Regions from separate parts of the Homo sapiens genome. Here all the other regions are linked to region 2. The links are contacts of gene promoters, found by promoter capture Hi-C in human tissues and cell types (Jung and others, 2019). All regions are on one chromosome and are shown on one strand. The core of a region is centred on a gene start or on the middle of the fragment in contact, and the rest is flanking DNA. Distances in the headings are between cores, read along the strand shown. Region 1 overlaps ERC1 (ELKS/RAB6-interacting/CAST family member 1). Region 2 holds the start of NINJ2 (ninjurin 2). Region 3 overlaps ERC1 (ELKS/RAB6-interacting/CAST family member 1).

The links. The method cuts DNA at HindIII sites, captures the fragments that hold promoters and counts their contacts. A contact is called where the count stands out against the background at its distance.
Region 1: a fragment that was not itself captured here is called in contact with the fragment with the promoter of NINJ2 in region 2 in 1 of the 25 tissues and cell types used here (dorsolateral prefrontal cortex).
Region 3: a fragment that was not itself captured here is called in contact with the fragment with the promoter of NINJ2 in region 2 in 1 of the 25 tissues and cell types used here (spleen).

What each region holds. Positions count from the first base shown.
Region 1 is chr12:1,059,075-1,062,366 of GRCh38, reverse strand. All of the region lies in intron 2 of ERC1 (ELKS/RAB6-interacting/CAST family member 1), which reads right to left. Among named protein-coding and RNA genes, the nearest start is that of ERC1, 69 kb to the right of the region's middle. The HindIII fragment of the contact is 8,518 bases long and covers 1-3,292 here.
Region 2 is chr12:662,032-665,012 of GRCh38, reverse strand. It overlaps NINJ2 (ninjurin 2), which reads left to right and starts at 1,568. Exons shown (of 4, transcript NM_016533.6): 1 at 1,568-1,685. The coding sequence starts at 1,653. The HindIII fragment of the contact is 21,671 bases long and covers 1-2,981 here.
Region 3 is chr12:1,091,234-1,094,564 of GRCh38, reverse strand. The region is part of intron 3 of ERC1 (ELKS/RAB6-interacting/CAST family member 1); the gene reads right to left. Among named protein-coding and RNA genes, the nearest start is that of ERC1, 100 kb to the right of the region's middle. The HindIII fragment of the contact is 7,005 bases long and covers 1-3,331 here.

The sequences.
Region 1 (3,292 bases), core at 215-2,714, 400 kb before region 2:
GCAGATGGCTTGAGCTCAGGAGTTCGACACCAGCCTGGGCAACATGGCAAAACCCCGTCTTCATTTTCAAAAAAAGAAAAGAAAAGGCCGGGCGCATTGGCTCACACCTGTAATCCCAGCACTTCGGGGGCCGAGGCGGGCAGATCACGAGGTCTGGAGATCAAGACCATCCTGGCTAACACGGTGAAACCCTGTCTCTACTAAAAATATAAAAAATTAGCCAGGCGTGCTGGTGGGTGCCTGTAGTCCCAGCTACTAGGGAGGCTGAGGTGGGAGTGAACCCGGGAGGCAGAGCTTGCAGTGAGCCGAGATCATGCCACTGCACTCCAGCCTGGGTGACAGAGCAAGACTCCGTCTCAAAAAAAAAAAAAAAAAAAGAAGAAAAGAAGAAAAAAAAACACAACATACCAAAACCTCTGGGAAACAGCAAAAGCAGTACAAAGAGGGGGGTTTACAGCAATAAATACTTATATCAAAAAAGAAGACAGATTTTAAATAAACAACCTAGCAATGCATCTCAAGGAACCTGAAAGGCAAGAACAAACCAAACTCAAAATTAGTGTAAGAAATAAAGACCAGAGCAGAAATAAGCAAAATAGAAACCAGAGAGAGAGAAAGAGAAAGCAAGAGATGGAGATATGGAGATATGGGGGGGGAGAGAGAGATTCAATTAGATTAGATAATTAGAGAGAGACACATATAAAACATCAATGAAACAAGAACTTGTTTTGGGGATTGTTCTTGTTGTTGTTGCTGCTGTTTCTGAGACAGGGTCTTGCTCTGTCACCCCGGCTGGAGTGCAGTGGTGCAATCTCAACTCACTGCAACCTATGCCTCCCAGGTTCAAGTGATTCTCATGCCTCAGCCTCCCAAGTAACTGTGATTACTGGCATACACCACCACGCCCAGCAACTTTTTTTTTTTTTTTTTTATAGTAGAGACAGGGTTTCACCATCTTGCCCAGGCTGATCTCGAACTCCTGGGCTCAAGTGATCTGCGGACTCAGCCTACCAGTGTGCTGGGATTACAGGCATGGCCCACTACGCCCAGCCAGAAACTTGGTTTTTTGAAAAGATAAGCAAAATCCACAAACCATTAGCTAGACTAAGAAGAGAGAAGACTCAAACAAAATCTGAAATGAAAAAGGAAACCACAGAAATACAAAGAATCATTAGACGCCATTATGAACAACTATACACCAACAAATTGGAAAACCTAGAAGGAATGGATAAATTCCTGGATATATAGAACTTGCCAAGATCGGACCAGGAAGAAGCAGTGATATAGTGTACTATACCCAAATCTCAACATGAATTGTATCTCCAAGAATTCCCACATGTGGCCAGGCGTGGTGGCTCACGCCTGTAATCCCAGCACTTTGGGGGGCCCGAGGCAGGTGGATCACGCGGTCAGGAGATCGAGATCATCCTGGCTAACACGGTGAAACCTCGTTCTACTAAAAATGCAAAAAAAATTAGCCAGGCGTGGTGGTGGGCACCTGTAGTCCCAGCTACTCAGGAGGCTGAGGCAGGAGAATGGCGTGAACCCAGGAGGCAGAGCTTGCAGTGAGCCGAGATCGCACCACTGCACTCCAGCCTGGGCAACAAAGCGAGACTCCGTCTCAAAAAAAAAAAAAAAAAAATTTCCCACGTTATGTGAAGGACCCAAGGGAAGGTAACTGAATCATGGGGCCAGTCTTTCCCATGCTATTCTTGTGATAGTGAATAAGTCTCATGAGATCTGATGGGTTTATCAGGGGTTTCCGCTTTTGCTTCTTCCTCATTTTTCTCTTGCCGCCTCAATGTAAGAAGTGCCTTTTCATATACACCATGGAATACTATGCAGCCGTAAAAAATGATGAGTTCATGTCCTTTGTAGGGACATGGATGCAACTGGAAACCATCATTCTCAGTAAACTATCACAAGGACAAAAAACCAAACACCGCATGTTCTCACTCATAGATGGGAATTGAACAATGAGAACACATGGACACAGGAAGGGGAACATCACACTCTGGGGACTGTTGTGGGGTGGGGGAAGGGGGGAGGGTTAGCATTAGGAGATATACCTAATGCTAAATGACGAGTTAATGGGTGCAGCACACCAGCATGGCACATGTATACATATGTAACTAACCTGCACATTGTGCACATGTACCCTAAAACTTAAAGTATAATAGTAAAAAAAAAAGAAGTGGCCTTTGCCTCCCACCATGATTCTGAGGCCTCCCCAGCCATGTGGAACTATAAGTCCAATTAAACCTCTTTTTCTCTCCAGTCTCAGTATGTCTTCATCAGCCAGCATGAAAACAGACTAATACAAGTAGTAAACCTGAACAGAACAACACCAAGTAACAAGACTGAATCAATTTTAATAAAAAGTCTCTCAACAAAGGAAACCCTGGATCAGATAGCTTTAATGCTAAATTCTACAAAACTTTTAAAGAACTAACACCAATTCTTCTCAAACTATTCCCAAAAGCTGAAGAGGGGTAATTCTTTGTAACTTACTCTATAGGGCCAGCCAGCATTACCTTGATGCGAAAACCAGACAAGGGTACAGAAACAACAAAAACTATGGTCAATATCCCTGATGAACACAGATGCAAAAATCCTCAACAACATACTAGCAAACAAAATCCAACAGCACATTCAAAAGACAATACACCAAGACAAAGTGGGATTTATCCCAGGGATGCAAGGATGGTTCAACATACACAAAACGATAAATGTAATATAGCACATCAACAGCATGAATGACAAAATCCATATGATTATCTCAATAGATGCAGAAAAAAACATTGGATAAAATTCAACATACCTTCCTGATAAAAACTCTCAATAAACTAGGCAATAAAGGAACATACCTCAACATAATCAAGGCCACATATGACAAAGTGACAGCTAACATCACACTTAATAGGGAAAAGCTGAATGCATTTCCTCTAAGAACTAGAACCAGACAAGTATGCCAACTTTTCACCATTCTTACTCAACATAGTACTGGAAGTCCCAGCCAGAGCACTTAGGCTAGAGAAAAAAATAAAGGGCATCCAGATTGCAAAAGAGGCAGTCAAATGTCCCTGTTTGCAGACAACATGTTCTTATATCTAGAAAAACCTAAAGACTCCATCAAAACAATCTTAGAACTTATAAACAAATTCACTAAAGTTGCAGGATAAAAAATCAACATATAAAAATCAGTAGCATTTCCATACACCAATAACAAACCAGCTAAAAAAGTAACCAAGAATGCAATCCCATTTACAATAAGCTACAACAACAAACTCTA
Region 2 (2,981 bases), core at 319-2,818:
CCCTCAGTCCCCATGTGCCTAAGGGGGCTCAGGAGCACTGGTCAAGCATCTCACAGGAAAATTTCGAGGGGCTTATCTTAGAGATGTGGGCCACTGAGCGGATACAGTGGGATGGGGGCACATACAAGTCAAAGCCAGGTCTCAGGATGGTCCACATTGCCACGAGCCAAGGTAGCGCAGACAGCAAGGGAGAACACTGGATCTCAAAGGCAGAAAGAGAATCACCCATGAGTGACTCTGGCCTAATATCAGACATCAGCCACCAAGGCCAGCAGAAGACCCAGGAGCAGGACCTGTGTCTCCTCAGCAGTCAGCAATTCGGGCGGGCCCGTGGGCCCAGCAGCTCCAGAACAGAAAGGAGCCGAGATGGAGAGGCCACAGGATAGATGCAAGAACCGTCCCCACCCCGCCCTCCTGTGCACCTAGGTGCCATCTTCTGCAAATCCGAAAGACTGAGCATTGTGTCTAAAGTGGACTGTTTACCATTTAAATGATTAAATCCAACTATGCTTCATAGATTAGACTAAAATATGGCCCCCATCCAATCATCCAACCCTCCCTCGCACCACTGTCCAGAGGGATGGGAACTTATAAAGGCATTTCATAGAACTGAAGAAATCGCCTTTTTTTTTTTTTACATTTGAATGTGGTGAGGGTAAACGTGTTGACTCTGCCTGTCTTCCTCCTGCCCGCACCTCTTCAAGCCCTGAATTGGATTACAGGTTAACACCCTGCCATGCACGTCTACAGACATACCCACACCCACACCTGCACAAGCTTGTGTCTAAACCTTGCTTCAGGAACAAGCCAGAAGAGTTTTGGGCTCTAAGGTAAACAGGAGAGGAAAAAAAAAACTTTCTAAAAAAAGACTCCCTCCTGGTAATTTTATTTTAAAAGTAGGGAGAATACCACTGTTTGCATAAACAAGCTTCGAAGGTACAACTACTCCCTGCTCCCTCTATGGCTAATCAAGGGAGGAGTTGAAGGAATCAAACAATCCGTCAGTAAAAACGTATTGTTCACTCACTTTGCAGAACAAAGCCTATGCTTTGGAGCCTATTAGGTAAACTACAATTTTTTTAAAAACTTTTAGGGATATAGGGAACAAAGCAAAGAACAACGGAAATCCCTCTGCCTCAGTATTGAGACTGTGCTGGAGGTCACTCCACCCGTGGCGACTGGGGACTGGACCCAGCGGTGAAGTCAGATAGCGTTGTCCTCAGGCTGTTTTTCAATTTGCTTGATAAACATGCAGGATTTCTTTGCCAGTCATAAAGCTACTAGCTCAAAGCAGGCTGGGTGACCTCAGATGGCTCCGCTGGGACTGGAAGGTCACTGGAGCCACTGGTGAAAATGATGCTGTCACTACCAACTCAAAAGGTCACCTATCAGTGTGCCATGTGCCACCTCCTGGAGCACACACATGTGCACACACATACACTCACACGTGTGTGCAGGTGCACACCTCCCCCAGAGGCTGCAGCCAAGACGGGCATCCCACATCAGAGGGATGAATGGCAGGTCTGTCCCGCCAGCTGTGTGCTCTCTCCCACCCGAAGAAAGCAGCAGAGACTCAGACGGCGGAGCCTGGAGGAGCCCACGCAGTCTGTTCCCGGCACCCGGTGCGTGTGAAGGGACTTGAGGGCAGCGAGATGGAATCAGCAAGAGAAAACATCGACCTTCAAGTAAGTTCTCTCTGGAAGAGAGCAGAGGGGAGACCGGGAGTAGAGGTGAAGCTGGAAGAACAGAGGATTGATACTTTAGTCACTTGATATTCTCCCTCCCCGTTCTCTTCTTACTCACTCCCTTCTCCAAATGCTCCCTAGGCTTTGTCTCTTTATTTTCTCTTTCTCTCTGTTTCCCTATCTGGTTCTTCACTTGTTTTGAAATATCTGAAAAACAGATTGGTTAACTCCCTTTTGGCCTCTGCTTCCTCTTGTCAGTCAAAGAGCTAATTAGATCCGTATTACCAGAAAATGATTTCACATTCTGAGCAGTGCTTTCCCCAAACCCCAGGACAGTAGAGACTTCTCTTAGAGCTGCCGGGGAGACAGGAAATATATGAGTTTTGAGGCTAGGAAGAGAGGCAGCTGGCCAACTTTGCATTTTACAGGTTGGAAAAAACTTGAGCCGTTTCTCGGCTGTCTTCACAAAGCTCTACTGTGTAGGACAGAAAGCGTCTCATTTGGACAGTGCAAGGAAAGGAAATCAGTCTAATCTCCTAGGAAGAGGCAGAGATGTGTGTCCCTCTGTAGCTGGGATGGGCTTGGAAGGCATCAGAGGTTCCAGTCCACTGCTGGAGGGGAAAGGGTGGGATGTTACGGTGAGAGGAGAGCCAGATTGCTGGGAGCTGCACTCTGTGACTCCTTGCCAATGGATAGAATAGAACGAACCCTTCTATGACCACTGCTGAGGCTGTGTAACATTGCAGAGAATCAAACAAAGTGTGGAAAAGGACTTTTGAGATCAAGAATTTCTGATCCCTGAACCTGGTCCTCGAACAAAATCTTAAGCAGCCACCCAATATACACTTCGGATTAAAGAAGAGCTGTTTTGTTGAAGCAGAGTATGTGCACGCGTCTCTCTCTCTCTCTCTCTCTCTCGTTCTCTGTGTGTGTTTTGGGCAGGGTGGCGTGAGTCTGGCAGAGTCTCTGTCCTTGGCCCCTCCGCCCTTGAGACACCACCAGGGAACTGTAGGACTGCTTGGTGTGCTGTGTCAAAACCATTCACCTAGTACAACTGCATACCCAGTGCTGTTTTCCTGGATTGGCAGCCAGCCCCGAGAGCGGTCCCACCGCAAGGCTTGCTTGTCCCTCTGTCTGGAACCTTCTTTCCCTGGCTTATCTCCTGGCTGGCCCTTCCTAGTACATTCAGGTCTCAGCTCAAATGTTACTTCCCCCAGGAGCCCTCCCCTGACCAACCTCTTCACAGGATGCCTCCTCCCCAATTTGTCTTTATCATTTGTTTAATTTCTTTCATAG
Region 3 (3,331 bases), core at 164-2,663, 430 kb before region 2:
GTGGCACACGTCTGTAATCCCAGCTATTTGGGAGGCTGAGGCAGGAGAATCACTTGAACCCAGGTGGCGGAGGTTGAGGTGAGCTGAGATCGCACCACTGCACTCCAGCCTGGGCGATAGAGCGAGACTCTGTTGCCAAAAAAAAAAAAGAGAGAGAAGGAATAACTTAAATAAATAAGGTATGCAACTGTTCTCATCTTCCAAAATTGCTACAAAAGACAAACTAAGAATTTCTTTTTCTTTTTTGGCCGGGTGTGGTGGCTCATGCCTGTTGTCCCAGCACTTTGGGAGGCCGAGCCGGGAGGATCACTTGAGGTCAAGAGTTTGAGACCAGCCTGGCCAACAAGGTGAAACCTCATCTCTATTAAAAATACAAAAATTAGCCAGGCATGGTGGCAGGCACCTGTAGTCCCAGCTACTCAGGAGGCCGAGGCAGAAGAATTGCTTGAACCCGGGACGCGGAGGTTGCGGTGAGCTGAGATTGCACCACTGCACCCCAGCCTGGGCGACAGAGCCACACTATGTCTCAAAAAAAAAAAAAATTTCTTTTTAAATTCCTATTCATTTTCTATGTTTTTCTATATATATATATATATATATATATATAGAAAAATATATATATTTATATAGAAAAATATACATTTATATATAGAAAAATATATATTTATATATAAATAAATACACATAAACATATATATATGTTTCTTTTTTTCTTTAATCTCCTCTGCTTATACCTTCTATCTGCCAGTAATACTGACAAACTGACAAGCAGTCCTCAGATATGCTAGTTAGATTCAGAATTCCCTAGCCTAGAACATATTCAAATATTAGCACTTTTAACCTCAAAGATTTTTGCAAACCTAACACGATAGCAGTTGTACTAATACGGTTTGTTGATTAAAATACAGACAAAAAACTAGTAGGCTGCAATAATGTTTTAAAACAAAGTTGTATTTTATTAATCACAATAGCATACCAGCATTTAAGTAAGTAGGAGCACATACTGAAATATATTATTTAGTTGGCCTATAGACAATGTTTGGTATGCATATGGATTGAAGACCCAAAAATTCCACAGCCAACTTAGGTATCCTCTGCTAGCGGACTGAAAACCAAAGTTGGGGCCTCAAATGTTGGTGTATAACAGAATCACCTGTCAAGCCCTCAGCACTAACCAAGTCTTGCCTGTAATTCAGCATTTGTCCAAGAGATGTCCCCACTCTTCTAACAGTCAAATGAAAGGAGCTACAGCGAAATAATACAAAAGCTAAGAATAAGCGGTCAAACAACAATGTGATTTGAGTACAAACAGAAAATACAATGCTTCATTGAAATCTTACTTTTTACCTCTCGGCTTTTGGGGGGGAGAATTATTTACCTGCCAGCTACAAAATCATGTTAATAAAGAAAACGTAAAACTAATTACAAATGTTACTACTAATAGCTACAAATGCCATTTTAATGCTATCTTATTTCATCAAATCTAAGATGCCACTGATTATAAGACACACCACTGTTGTACATGCTGAAAAGAAATAGTGGAAATGCCTCCAAATAAATCATGACACAAAACTTTATCATAAATTTAGGGTTTTGTTTGTTTGTTTTTGAGGCAGAGTGTCACTCTGCACGCTGGAGTGCAGTGGTGCAATCCTGGCTCACTGCAACCTCCGCCTCCTGGGTTGAAGCAATTACCATGTGCCAGCCTCACAAAGAGCTGGGATTACAGGCGTGCACCACCACACTCAGCTAATTTTTGTATTTTTAGTAGAGACAGGGTTTTGCCATATTGCCCAGGCTGGTCTCGAACTCCTGGCCTCAGGCGATCCGCCCGCCTTGGCCTCCCAAAGTGCTGGGATTACAGACGTGAGCCATTGCACCCGCCCTAGAATTTTTACTTAATACTGATTGCAAGAGTTAGTTTTTTTAAACTTATTTAAACAGAGTTTAATCACATACCATCATAAACTGTTTTCATAACTTTCTCCATACCGGGTAATTTTGTTTCAATGCTGATTCACAGAATATTTATGCAGAAACACTGAACAACAAAGTTAACATGGGAAATGCCAACAATGCTCATACCTCAGCTGAAATGATGACAAAATGAATGGACATGATTATATTTGTGAATACACGGGCAAACAAATATACCAGGACTGCTGCTTTGCTGATATAGACTGTTAACATGACACCAAGTGTTAACACTTAACTCAATTTCATTGTTAAAACAGGGAAAGTTGTGACTTTTAGAATTGATTAAATGTGGGCCGGGCGCGGTGGCTCACGCCTATAATCCCAGCATATTAGGAGGCCGAGGCGGGCGGATCACGAGGTCAGGAGTTCAAGACCAGCCTGACCAACATGGTGAAACCTCGTCTCTACTAAAAACAGAAAAATTAGCTGGGCCTGGTGATGGGTGCCTGTAATCCCAGCTACTCGGGAGGCTGAAGCAGGAGAATCGCTTGAACCCAGGGGGCGCAGGTTGCAGTGAGCCGAGATCGCACCATTGCACTCCAGCCTGGGCAACAGAGCGAGACTCCGTCTCAAAAAAAAAAAAAAAGAATTGATTAAATGCCACTTTTTTTTAAAAGATGGACAATAATTCAATAACTAATGAAATTTCTGGATACCCTAGCATTGCCAGCCCATAATTCTTTGTGCTGCTTCCTGATACGCTAGTGATATTCTGTACATCTCCAGCAATCATTTCAAGTCCCCATTCCCCTAATCTAGATTACAGCAGTTAAATTCCTTACTATACTCCCTTGTTCACTCTTCTCTCCTTCCTCCATTTATTCTCAGCACAACCAGAGTAAATTTTAAAAGCAAATCAGATTGTGTCACTCCCTTGATTCAACGGTGGAATGGTTTTCTCTCCCATTTTGAATAAAATGGTTGCATTATCTGCAAGGATCATAAAGGCAGGTACTTTTTCTCAAAGACAGCATGGATTTGTTTGCTGCTATATCCTTAGTGCTGTGCGCATGGTTGGTGTCCAGTAAATACGTGATAAGTGAATCTGACTCTGGCCACCTCTCCAATTTCGCATCTCATTAAGTCTTCCCCTTATACAGTATATTCTTGCCCTCCAGCCTCCCTCCTGTTTCCTCAAAACTCCTTCCTATGAGGTCTTTAAAACTGTTAATGCTTCTTCATGAAATTATTTTACTTGGCAAAGCTGGCTTCTTCTCTTCAGATCTCCACTGAAAGGGTACCTACTAAAGGACACTTACCCTGTTATAAAATCCCCTTCCCAACTTAATTAGCACTCCACCCAGAAAGTCTTTCTGAACAGTGCTGATGCACAGCATTCCATCCTTGTAAGATA